Regions from separate parts of the Homo sapiens genome. Here all the other regions are linked to region 4. Evidence: promoter capture Hi-C in human tissues and cell types (Jung and others, 2019). All regions are on one chromosome and are shown on one strand. Each heading gives the region's core, a stretch centred on a gene start or on the middle of the fragment in contact. The rest is flanking DNA. Distances are from core to core; before and after follow the strand shown.

Evidence for each region. The method cuts DNA at HindIII sites, captures the fragments that hold promoters and counts their contacts. A contact is called where the count stands out against the background at its distance.
Region 1: a contact is called between the fragment with the promoter of HAUS4 here and a fragment that was not itself captured in region 4, in 2 of the 25 tissues and cell types used here (IMR-90 fibroblasts and lymphoblastoid cells).
Region 2: a contact is called between the fragment with the promoter of PRMT5 here and a fragment that was not itself captured in region 4, in 1 of the 25 tissues and cell types used here (dorsolateral prefrontal cortex).
Region 3: a contact is called between the fragment with the promoter of AJUBA here and a fragment that was not itself captured in region 4, in 1 of the 25 tissues and cell types used here (thymus).

What each region holds. Positions count from the first base shown.
Region 1 is chr14:22,955,656-22,958,355 of GRCh38, reverse strand. It overlaps HAUS4 (HAUS augmin like complex subunit 4), which reads left to right and starts at 1,266. Exons shown (of 10, transcript NM_001166269.2): 1 at 1,266-1,440. It overlaps MIR4707 (microRNA 4707), which reads left to right and starts at 1,327; the gene lies at 1,327-1,406. RefSeq lists a silencer at 1-104 and enhancers at 1-482, 483-1,062, 1,445-1,574. The HindIII fragment of the contact is 8,338 bases long and covers 1-2,700 here.
Region 2 is chr14:22,928,027-22,930,726 of GRCh38, reverse strand. PRMT5 (protein arginine methyltransferase 5) reads left to right here and starts at 1,351. Exons shown (of 17, transcript NM_006109.5): 1 at 1,351-1,475; 2 at 2,112-2,230; 3 at 2,516-2,601. The coding sequence starts at 1,366. PRMT5-DT (PRMT5 divergent transcript) reads right to left here and starts at 1,118. Exons shown (of 3, transcript NR_110002.1): 1 at 975-1,118. It overlaps TRR-ACG1-3 (tRNA-Arg (anticodon ACG) 1-3), which reads right to left and starts at 1,026; the gene lies at 954-1,026. RefSeq lists a silencer at 898-987 and an enhancer at 1,398-1,507. The HindIII fragment of the contact is 24,447 bases long and covers 1-2,700 here.
Region 3 is chr14:22,981,259-22,983,958 of GRCh38, reverse strand. It overlaps AJUBA (ajuba LIM protein), which reads left to right and starts at 1,408. Exons shown (of 8, transcript NM_032876.6): 1 at 1,408-2,698. The coding sequence starts at 1,693. RefSeq lists enhancers at 428-1,393, 1,394-2,359. The HindIII fragment of the contact is 6,187 bases long and covers 1-2,700 here.
Region 4 is chr14:22,532,484-22,535,183 of GRCh38, reverse strand. It overlaps TRA, TRAJ11 and TRAJ10. Among named protein-coding and RNA genes, the nearest start is that of LINC02332, 23 kb to the left of the region's middle. RefSeq lists a silencer at 2,009-2,058. The HindIII fragment of the contact is 7,292 bases long and covers 1-2,700 here.

The sequences.
Region 1 (2,700 bases), core at 17-2,516, 420 kb before region 4:
AAGACTCCGTCTGGAAAAAAAAAAAAAAAAAGATTAAGACAGGTGAAAGATATTTGGCCGGGCAGATTGCTTGAGGTCAGGAGTGCGAGACCATCCTGGCCAATATTGTGAAACTCTGTCTCTACTAAAAATATAAAAATTAGCCAGGCGTGGTGGCTCGTGCGGGTAATCCCAGCTACTCAGGAGGCTAGGGCAGGAGAATCGCTTGAACCTGGGAGGTGGAGGTTGCGGTGAGCCGAGATCGTGCCACTGCGCTCCAGCCTGGGCAACAAGTGCGAAACTCCGTACCCCCAAGAAAACAAACAAACAAACAAACAAAACAGGCGAATGAGGAATGCGCGCTAATAGGGAGTCTGTGGTGGGAATTCGAGAGGAAGGTGACCCTGAGGAAGCACTGTATGGTGCCCGGCATGGGCTGGGCTGGGCTGGGCTGGGCTGGGCGGCAGCGCCTCAGAGCCAGGCCTTAGTGAGGAGACTCGCAGGACGCGGCTTGGGTGGCAGGTCTGGGAAGGTTCCTTCCGAGAGCTATTGGGACAGGTTTAGACCCCCCAAATGGCGACCTCGAACTTAACCCTTTGTGCCTCAGTTCTCCCCCTCTGTAAAATGAGTATAATGGTGACTTTCTCACAGGACGCTTTAAGAACTAAACGAGGCCTGGCCGAGGGCGGTAGCTCACGCCTGTAATCCCAGCACTTTGGGAGGCCGAGGCGGGTGGATCACGAGGTCAGGAGATCCAGATCATCCTGGCTAACACGGTGAAACCCCGTCTCTACTAAAAATACAACAATTAGCCGGGCGTGGTGGCGGGCACCTGTAATCCCAGCTACTCGTGAGGCTGAGGCAGAGAATTGCTTGAACCCGGGAGGCGGAGCTTGCAGCGAGCCGATATTGCGCCACTGCACCCCAGCCTGGGCGACAGAGCGAGACTCCGTCTCAAAAAAAAAACGAGGCAAGGCAAGCAAAATGCTTGGCGTAGTGCCTGACTCATCGTAGGCCCTCAATAAATGTTAGCAATTACCACCATTTTCTCAGCATCTGCCCTTCACTGGGGAGGCACTAATGAGAAGGGGCAAAAAAGCCTTTCCGAGACCATCCTGTTTCCCAGTCCGGGTTCCACCACCCGAGCATGCGAACCCAGGGCGTTGGGAACCCAGCGCGCACCCGTCGAGGGGCGGGGCCTGCCGTTCCCGCCTCGAGTGTGGCCCCGCCTCCACCTCCTTCGTCGCGGCCTCTAGTGCACTTTCGGCTCCTTCCCCTTCCCGGGCCTTTCAGCTTGGTCTTTCCGGGCCTCGCTTCCCCCAGCCCCTGCGCCCGGCCCGAACGAGAGGTTCCGGAGCCCCGGCGCGGGCGGGTTCTGGGGTGTAGACGCTGCTGGCCAGCCCGCCCCAGCCGAGGTTCTCGGCACCGCCTTGAGAGCTTCAGCTGCCCCAGGGTGTGCAGGTTTGCTTTAGAGGGTCGGCGGGCGGAGCTTCGGGGAAGAGGAGCTCTGGGAGAGTCATTCCGGCCAGTGGCCGGAGACCGTCGTCGCTCTTGGGAATCCTTGGCCGCCCAGACAGAAGGGAAGTAGGCGCCGGAGAGCCCGTTCTGCATTTTGATTCATCTCGGGCCCTGTAAGGGTCATATCTTGTGAAAATAACCTGTAAAATCAATTTAACGTTCAGTGCAGCGTGTAAAGACAGCTCTAAGAATTTAAAAGACGCCTGAGTCAGAACATTTAAATGCTTGGGTCCCTGTAGCAGCGTTTTAACACGTCTGAGTGCAGAGGGTGGAGAATCGAGCCTGATTGCCGTTCACGCCCTGTAACCTTTAAGAAGGGTAAAGAAAGGCACCCTAAAAAACGCAAGGGGACACTTACCCTAGGGGGGGACGAACAGCTAGCTTTTTGGAATTTGGGTTGGTCTTCATTTCCAAGTGCGAAATTTGCCTGCAAAACTTTTTATTTGCAGTCATAGATCAACGATAAACAGAATTGTTAAAACACTGAACTTAACTAAGTAGTGGCTTTTGTTGACAAGTCGATTGTGTTATTAATTCTTAATGTCTCATCCAAGGCAGGAATCGTTATCTCAGTTTTGCAGGTGGGAAAAGTTTGGCACAGAAAAAAGCATTTTCCTTAAGTTCTCAGAAGCAACGGCCGGCCGAGCTGCAAATTAAGTCCCAGCATTCTGCCTCCTCAGCTGCGTCCCCCTCTAGACCATGTTAGAAAACAAATGAGTAGTTACTTTGATGTTACTCATAAAACGATCGAGTAAACCAAATGTTCTATAAACATGAAGCGTTAAATCATAATAACCTTCAATGCCTGTTCAGCTTTGGGAGGCTCAGTTGCCCTTTGGAGTTTGATACCTTGCAGAGAGGAGGGGCAGAGCAAAAACATGAAAAGTAATGTCAAGGGAAAATTTTTGTCTCCTGAGGTCAAACTGTGCCCATCTTTACTGCCCCTGTGTTGGTGTCATTCCTTTCAGCGCACTCCATGTTCTGGCAAAACACCCACAGCTCACGTTCTCGTTGTAGCCACATTACACCTTTGCATTACTCTTTTGCCACTGACCTCACTGTCAGTCTTCTTGTCACGCTGTTTCCTCCAGGTGCTCTTTTCTTAGGCTGTTATGTGAAAACCAGTTGTTCAAGTGTGGAATGATTTGTCATTCCTGAAGGATGATTCTAGAGTTAATGATAAAAAAAAAAAAAACTACCAAC
Region 2 (2,700 bases), core at 102-2,601, 400 kb before region 4:
CCGGCTTTCATTCTTTTGGGGCACTTGCATTGCACCCAGGGTTCCCCAGAACTTATCCTACCCCACACCCTTTTCGTATTTCCTATGGCTCTGTCCCCAACGAGCTATGGTGATCTCAGTCGCATGGCCTCAGTTCTTTTCTTCTAGCGACCTCCATCCAACTTTCTATTACACAGCGCCCCCTAGACGTTCAATTCAGCATGACCAAACCCAAACCCTGATTTCCCAAACCCTCTTTCCGCATTTCTTGCTCACTGCATGGACAGAATCCTAGGCATCACCCCCTACTTTGCTTTCTCAGGACTCCTTGCCAGTCGGTCCCTAAGTTCTGCCAGCGGCGCCTGCGTGGGGTCTCTTGTACCGTGTTCTCCTCTCCATCCTTGCTGCCGAGCCCTCAACACCAGTGGGCCCCCTGCCTTCTGGAGTTCCCATTTACCTCCCTATGTCTTTCCTTGCTTCCTTCCTTTCCATCTCTAGCAGCTAATGACATGAGAAAATGTAGATTCTCTCTGGCCTCCATGCCAGCCAATTTCATGACTGCTGCCCACTGTAATTAATGAATTCCTTTTCTCTATCTTGAGGTGTGTGTGTGTGTTTAGGCGTTTATTTACACCTTTTGTGTTTGAAACACAAAACACTACTTCCTAGAATCACTAGGAAGTAGTAGCTGAGTTAGCAGTTTATTTTAATATGTAACATAGTAAGGTGACAAAGCTCATTTTAATAGCACCAGCCATTAACCCAGTTTTCTCAGTGTTCATATGGACGTAAATAATGACACAAGAAAAACACTTTTGAGGGTAGTTACGGGAAAAGCTGACATTACATGGCTGCATAACCCAACCGACTCAGGATCTGATAATGAAAGCGTGAAGATAATAAAGAAGCATCAAGCTGCGAAAGGAAAGGAAAATTACAAAATGCTCACGCAGCGAAGCTGCGAGGAACCCCACCGAGCCAGCCAGGAGTCGAACCTGGAATCTTCTGATCCGTAGTCAGACGCGTTATCCATTGCGCCACTGGCCCTGAGATGGCACTGTTTCTCTCCGTGATGGTACTTCAAGGTTATACTGCAGGGTTTCATGGGCGGTGTAGTCTCTCAACGGCGTTCTTCAGATAGACTAAGCATTCTGGGAGATTGAAGTTCGTCAGGAACCAGACCCTGAGATTGGTGGATCCATGCCGTACGCCACTGTGCAGCCCGCGGATTGGCAGGAAAAGCCACTCCCCATCCCTCCTGTTCGGGAGCTGTGGCAGACGCTCTGGTTGTTAAGGCGACTCGTCCCGCCTTCTGGGGCACTAGTTTGACTTTGTGATTGGCTACTAGTATCAAGGAATCCCGGCGTGGACAGCGCGAGGAGAAAGATGGCGGCGATGGCGGTCGGGGGTGCTGGTGGGAGCCGCGTGTCCAGCGGGAGGGACCTGAATTGCGTCCCCGAAATAGCTGACACACTAGGGGCTGTGGCCAAGCAGGGGTGAGGGCCGGACCTCCACGAGCGGAATGCGGGGTCCGAACTCGGGGACGGAGAAGGGCAGACTAGTCATCCCGGAGAAGCAGGGGTGAGGGGGTCGGCTAGGATGAGGAGGGGAGAGACTATTACTCTTTGGAGGGGAGGAGCCTCGGACCCAGTAACGTGAGGAAAATAACTTGTGGGAGGCCTGTGGTCACTGAGTCCCAAAGTTGGGAGAGTTGTTGGGTAAACTCTAAAGGGCCCTGGAGGTCGCGATTATTGTCTGGGAGTGGGAGGAGGTGTTAGGGGGCAAGGGAGAGAAGAGGCTAATTTTGACGGGGGAGGCATGGGCAGAACTGGGGCAAATCTGGATGTGATGGTCTTGGAAACATACTGACACCTGAGGAGAAAAAAATTCTACTTGTGGATATCCATCATTTTCTCCTTACTCATATGTCCCATGGCTGTGTTTTAGGGAGAAATTGAGGCACAGTACAGCAGAGTTGATATCCCCCAAGGTGGTCTGAACTCAGCAGCCTAGTAGGCTGAACTGATGGCAGCTGAAAGGGCTGTGCAAAATCAAGATAGCCTAAATCCAGTTGCTTGGCTCTCTGGCACTGCTGCTGTCTTTACATGATTCTGGGTCTGTCGCGGTTGTAGGTTTGATTTCCTCTGCATGCCTGTCTTCCATCCGCGTTTCAAGAGGGAGTTCATTCAGGAACCTGCTAAGAATCGGCCCGGTCCCCAGACACGATCAGACCTACTGCTGTCAGGAAGGGGTAGGGACCATCCCATATGCCCCTTAATTATTAGAGGCAATAACAACTTCTGCTTTATCGGGGCCCTCATTCTCCTCCTTTTCTGACTTGGATATATTTGTTAGTCCCTGGGATATAGATAACTTGTTTTCTCCTTGCTTCTCTATTCTGCATCAGGCTATCCCATGTCTATGTAGAAAAAACCTTTGTCTCTCATTTCTACTCTTGATTCCCAAAACTAAAAATTGAACAAGTAAAGTGCTGAACCTTATTCAGTATTTGTCTTTCTTGGGTGGGGGAGTGCAGACTGGAATACGCTAATTGTGGGAAAGCTTTCTCCATGGATTCGTCCAGACTCAAAAGTGGAGAAGATTCGCAGGAACTCCGAGGCGGTAAGACTGTTTGACTTCTCTGCTGGATTTTTCTAACCAAGCTGGGTGGGGAGAGTGGTCCCCTCCCATCCCCAATAACTTGGTAAATTAACTGATAGA
Region 3 (2,700 bases), core at 159-2,658, 450 kb before region 4:
ATTGGCTCACTGCAACCTCTGTCTCCCGGGTTCAAGCGATTCTCCCGCCTCAGCCTCTCGAGTGGCTGGGACTATAGGCGTGCGCCACCACGCCTGGCTAATTTTTGTATTTTTAGTAGAGATAGGGCTTCACCATGTTGGCCAGGCTGGTCTGAACTCTTGACTTCAAGTGATCCGCCCGCCTCAGCCTCCCAAAGTGGTGGGATTACAGGCGTGAGCCACCGCGCCCGGCTGCTTCAGCCAGGGTTTCTTTTCCTTATTCTTGATCCTTTTAAAATAGTCAATATCAGCCTCTTTTCCATCCTGATCATTTTCATTTGCAATTTCCTCTACACGGCATTTCTTTTCTTCCTCTTAATACTTACTCTGTATCACCAGTCTTCTGTGGACCAAAACCAAAGGGAGAAGGTGTTCGCTAGCCCTAAAACCAGGCCTTCGATCTCCACAGTCACCTGAAATGAGAAAAATCTCATTTCCCAACACCAGGGGGTGTCTATCCCTCTAACTGTCCTACCCTTAAGGTAGAGATTAGTCCCAAACCTTTTCCTCACTCCTTTTCACTGCTTCTACATACACACTATATCTCTTTCCCTCCCTCTCAAAGTAGAGATTAGTCCCATTTTCCTGACTCCTTTTCACTGCTTTTACAAATCACAAAACTTTTGGGTCCAGAAGGTGGTGCCTTTTTATTGCAGTTTATCTGTTTGTCTCTCATTCTCTCTGGACAAGCTTGTCCTTTCCTTTGTCTGCGCACCCTTCGGTCTCTGCATCGTCCACACTCCTCTTTGCTCCTCAGCTCTCCCTTTCTTTCGCTACCTCTTCCCTCTTCCACCTCTCTCTGTGGGCTTCGTCGCCTTTCAGGGCTATCTTTACGTACACGTCTCTGAACCTCTTTATGCATTTGTCTTCTTTCTCTCTGTCTTCCTCTTTATGGCTCTCTCCTTGTCTCACCATTTCTGTACCAGTCTCTCTCCATCTCTCCCACAGTCCCCACGCTGGGAACAAAGTCACGGTGCTAGCGCAGAACATGCCTCCTGTCGTCCGGTCCCGGGACGCGACACATTCCACCATGCCCCTCCGCGCATTCCAACTGCAGACAAAGAGTCCCCGTCCCCTACCCCCACACTCTTTCCTATTCCAATTCTTCAGTGTTGTAGGGGCAGCTGCCCCAACTGCCCCTGCCCGCCTCTCACGTCCAGTCCGCGGGTCTCCACATCCAGGGCAGTTAGCGCCTTCCGCTGCACGCACACCAGCTATCCCTGCGCGGACACCCCCGGCGCTCTCGCACACACCGCGCTCCGCCCCCCTAGGAAAGTAGATCCGGCCAGGCAGACAAAAGTTTGGGAGAGAAGTTCGGTCTGTGGCTAGCGTGAGAGCTAGGGGGGCGGGGGCCGGGGAGAGTGGGGCAGTCGGGCGAGTCGACGCGTGAACAGATAGACCTGCGGACTGGACAGCCGCGGCCAGAGACCCTGCTAGCCCCGCTCAGCCCCAGATGCGCGGGGGGACGCAGCCCCTCCCGCTGGGGGATGCTGTGGGATTCCTGGCGCAGGGCATCCAGGCCGCCCGCTAAGCCCCTGTGCCTCCCCTGTGCCCCTGGGGAACCAGAGTCCGGCTGCAGGGAAAGAGAACCGGCCGCCGAGACGCCGCAGGGTGCCAGGCGGGGAGGGGGCGAGAGGCCCCAGGCCCGAGGGCATGGAGCGGTTAGGAGAGAAAGCCAGTCGCCTGCTGGAGAAGTTCGGCCGCAGAAAGGGTGAATCTAGCCGGTCTGGGTCTGACGGGACCCCCGGGCCGGGCAAGGGGCGCCTAAGTGGGTTGGGGGGACCTAGGAAGTCAGGGCCCCGAGGAGCTACTGGGGGACCTGGGGATGAGCCGTTGGAGCCGGCCCGGGAGCAAGGTTCCCTGGACGCTGAGCGAAATCAGCGCGGCTCCTTTGAGGCGCCGCGCTACGAAGGCTCTTTTCCCGCGGGGCCGCCGCCCACCCGGGCCTTGCCTCTACCTCAGTCGTTGCCCCCCGATTTTCGGCTGGAGCCCACGGCCCCGGCCCTCAGCCCCCGCTCTAGCTTCGCCAGTAGCTCGGCCAGCGACGCGAGCAAGCCGTCCAGCCCCCGGGGCAGCCTGCTGCTGGACGGGGCGGGGGCTGGCGGAGCTGGAGGTAGCCGGCCCTGCAGCAATCGCACCAGCGGCATCAGCATGGGCTACGACCAGCGCCACGGGAGCCCCTTGCCAGCGGGGCCGTGCCTGTTTGGCCCACCCCTGGCCGGAGCACCGGCAGGCTATTCTCCCGGAGGGGTCCCGTCCGCCTACCCGGAGCTCCACGCCGCCCTGGACCGATTGTACGCTCAGCGGCCCGCGGGGTTCGGCTGCCAGGAAAGCCGCCACTCGTATCCCCCGGCCCTGGGCAGCCCTGGAGCTCTAGCCGGGGCCGGAGTGGGAGCGGCGGGGCCCTTGGAGAGACGGGGGGCGCAACCCGGACGACACTCTGTGACCGGCTACGGGGACTGCGCCGTGGGCGCCCGGTACCAGGACGAGCTAACAGCTTTGCTTCGCCTGACGGTGGGCACCGGTGGGCGAGAAGCCGGAGCCCGCGGAGAACCCTCGGGGATTGAGCCGTCGGGTCTGGAGGAGCCACCAGGTCCTTTCGTTCCGGAGGCCGCCCGGGCCCGGATGCGGGAGCCAGAGGCCAGGGAGGACTACTTCGGT
Region 4 (2,700 bases), core at 112-2,611:
AAAGTTCTATGTGCAAAGTGCCTTCACCCTGCATTTCTCTATAACTCACAAAGGAGTCAGGCTCTTGTAGATCAGTTATATTGGTGGCTGGTCTGCCTGGGGAAAATACAAGAAACAGCGAAGGAAAGGGACAGTCAGAACAAGGGAGTGGCTGCAGCCAGCTCCCCTCTCTTTTCTCCCTATTGGGGTAAATGCTCCCAGCAACTCTGTACTTTGTTTTGTCATTGAAAGGGGAGGAGAACTCTTTAGACACTTGGGGCATCCATGTCAAGATTTCCCGAAGCACCCTCTCTAACTCACAGCAATATCTAAAGTAGAAAAGATAAATTCCAAGCATTTCACCAGTCACTGTGATTGGCATCACCTCTCATTTCTAAGTAAACTAGAGCACAAGCTCTACGACATCATGCAGTAGAAAGAGCAGGGCTTTCAGGTGTGGTGGCGCATGCCTGTAACCCCAGCTACTTGGGAGGCTGAGGCAGGAGAATCGAATCGCTTGAACCTGGGAGGCAGAGGCTGCAGTGAGCTGAGACTGCACTGCACTCCAGCCTGGGTGACAGAGCAAGACTCTGTCTCAGAAATAAATAAATAAATAAATAAAATAAAATAAAATAAAAGAAAGAGCAGGGCTTTTTAGTCAGGCAGGCAGACCCAAGTTTAAATTTAGGCCCTTTACTTACTAGCTTTGGGATCTTGGGCACTTCCTTCTCTGAGCCTCAGTTTCTTCTTTTGTAAAATAAGATACTTCCCCTTACCTCACAGAGTTATTTCAGATGAACAATTCTACATGTCATGCATCTAGCATCGTATCTAAACATGGTAGGGACTGAGATGGTGGTTATTATTTCTATGTTAAGTTAGGTTGTTGATTAACAGGGCTATTTCCTGAGGGTCATAGAATTTGTTTATGAAATACTCACAAGATTCCATACTCTCGAGTCCTATAAACTCTCGGGTGGTATAATAGCGAAATCCCAGAACAACAGATTTTGAGGGCTTTGACCCCCTCATCCACTGGAGGAGTCTGAGGTGCAGAGAGGGGCAATGACTCGTTCCAATATCACACATCCAGTTGGGACCAAATCAAACCTAGAACTCTGGACCGAAACAAGAAGCCCTGGGTTCCTTTCTCTGTACTTCACTGACTCTTCTTGGATGATGTTTAGCATAAGGGGGCACAATCTCTGGAATGAATTGGGAGTGGTTTTTTTGGGGCATGGCTAAAATGACCTTGAATACCCTCTTCTAAATGCACCACTGAGTCCATGGCAGTGGAAGTAGAAAGGATCTATTTGATCATGACGGTGCAATTTTCTGCTCTTCTAGCTCTTTTCTTCCATTGAGCATCGTTTAGCTTAATACTAGTATTAAAAACTCTCACGTTGAAGAGAGCTGAAAATCTCATATCTTGGAAAAAGTCTTAGTGGTTAGCTAAATTCCACCCTAACGAAAGCATGCTTATATAGCCTTTGAATACTTTCACTAATTTATCTGGATGTCACAATTCTTAATGCTTCAGTAATAGATTAAAAATAAGATACAATGACAAAAATTACATCACCTTTTCTTCCACTTATTGTCACCAGAATACATTTTGTAATTACCATAGAATCTCATACTTACTGAGTTCCACTTTTAGCTGAGTGCCTGTCCCAAAGGTGAGTTTGTTTCCTCCTCCCGTGAGTATCACAGTGTTTGATGCCTCACAATAAACTCCCTTTTGTCACTTCACCCCTCTTCTTGATGTGCTCTAATGAGTTAGAAAACACTCAAGCTTTAAAATAGCTATTGAGTTACTCCTAGGAGAAAAAAGTGCCCCAAATGGGATACATTCATAGACTTTTTGTACTAAGAGGCCAGAGAGGCCATTGGACCCACTTCCCCATTTACAGATAAAGAAACTGAGGCTTAGAGGCAAGAGATCTGGTCTAAGTTACATTGCTAGTTGGCAGCAGAGACCAAAACATGGCTCTATTTGAATCCCAATCTAGCATTTCTTCCTCCCCACTACACGCTCAAATGTACTGTGTCATTTGCTTAATTTTCTTCTTCCCTTTGGCCTGGAAACCTGATTTCTTTGGGTGTTTAACTTCAATTAAGCAAGAATTTATCAAGTATTTACTTTTGTAAAAGGACCATATCAGACACTTCATGGAATATTAGAGACTGTCTATTCTCAAGGATCTTTTGGTTCAAATAGGCAGATATTCTCAGTAAGAAAAGATTTCTGTAGCTGCATAGGTCACAGATTGTCTAAGATTCCACAGCTAAATTTGGGATATGGAGGGTTAGAGGAATGTGAAGGGTGCCCGGGGAGAGACCACAGTCTAGGCTTTAAACAGGAAGTGAGTCTATTTCTGGAAAAACCACGTTTGTCCTAATTGTCTAGGGTATTACTCCCTTCTCCATCCTGACCTAGTGAATTAGTTCTACTGTTATTTCCAACTCTTCTATTAGCTATTTTCATTTTTAAATGAAGAGTCCATGGAGGCTCAATCTTAAATTCACAGAACATTGATAATAAAACAAGGATGATGAAATCCATGAGGATAACACGCAATACATATGGAAGCCTTAAACCAGATAGGGGGAAAACATGGGTGGGATGGGGTCAACATGTACCTGGAGAGACTAGAAGCATAGTCCCCTTCCCAAAGGTGAGGGTGCTGTATCCTGAATTCACACTATAGCAAATCCCCA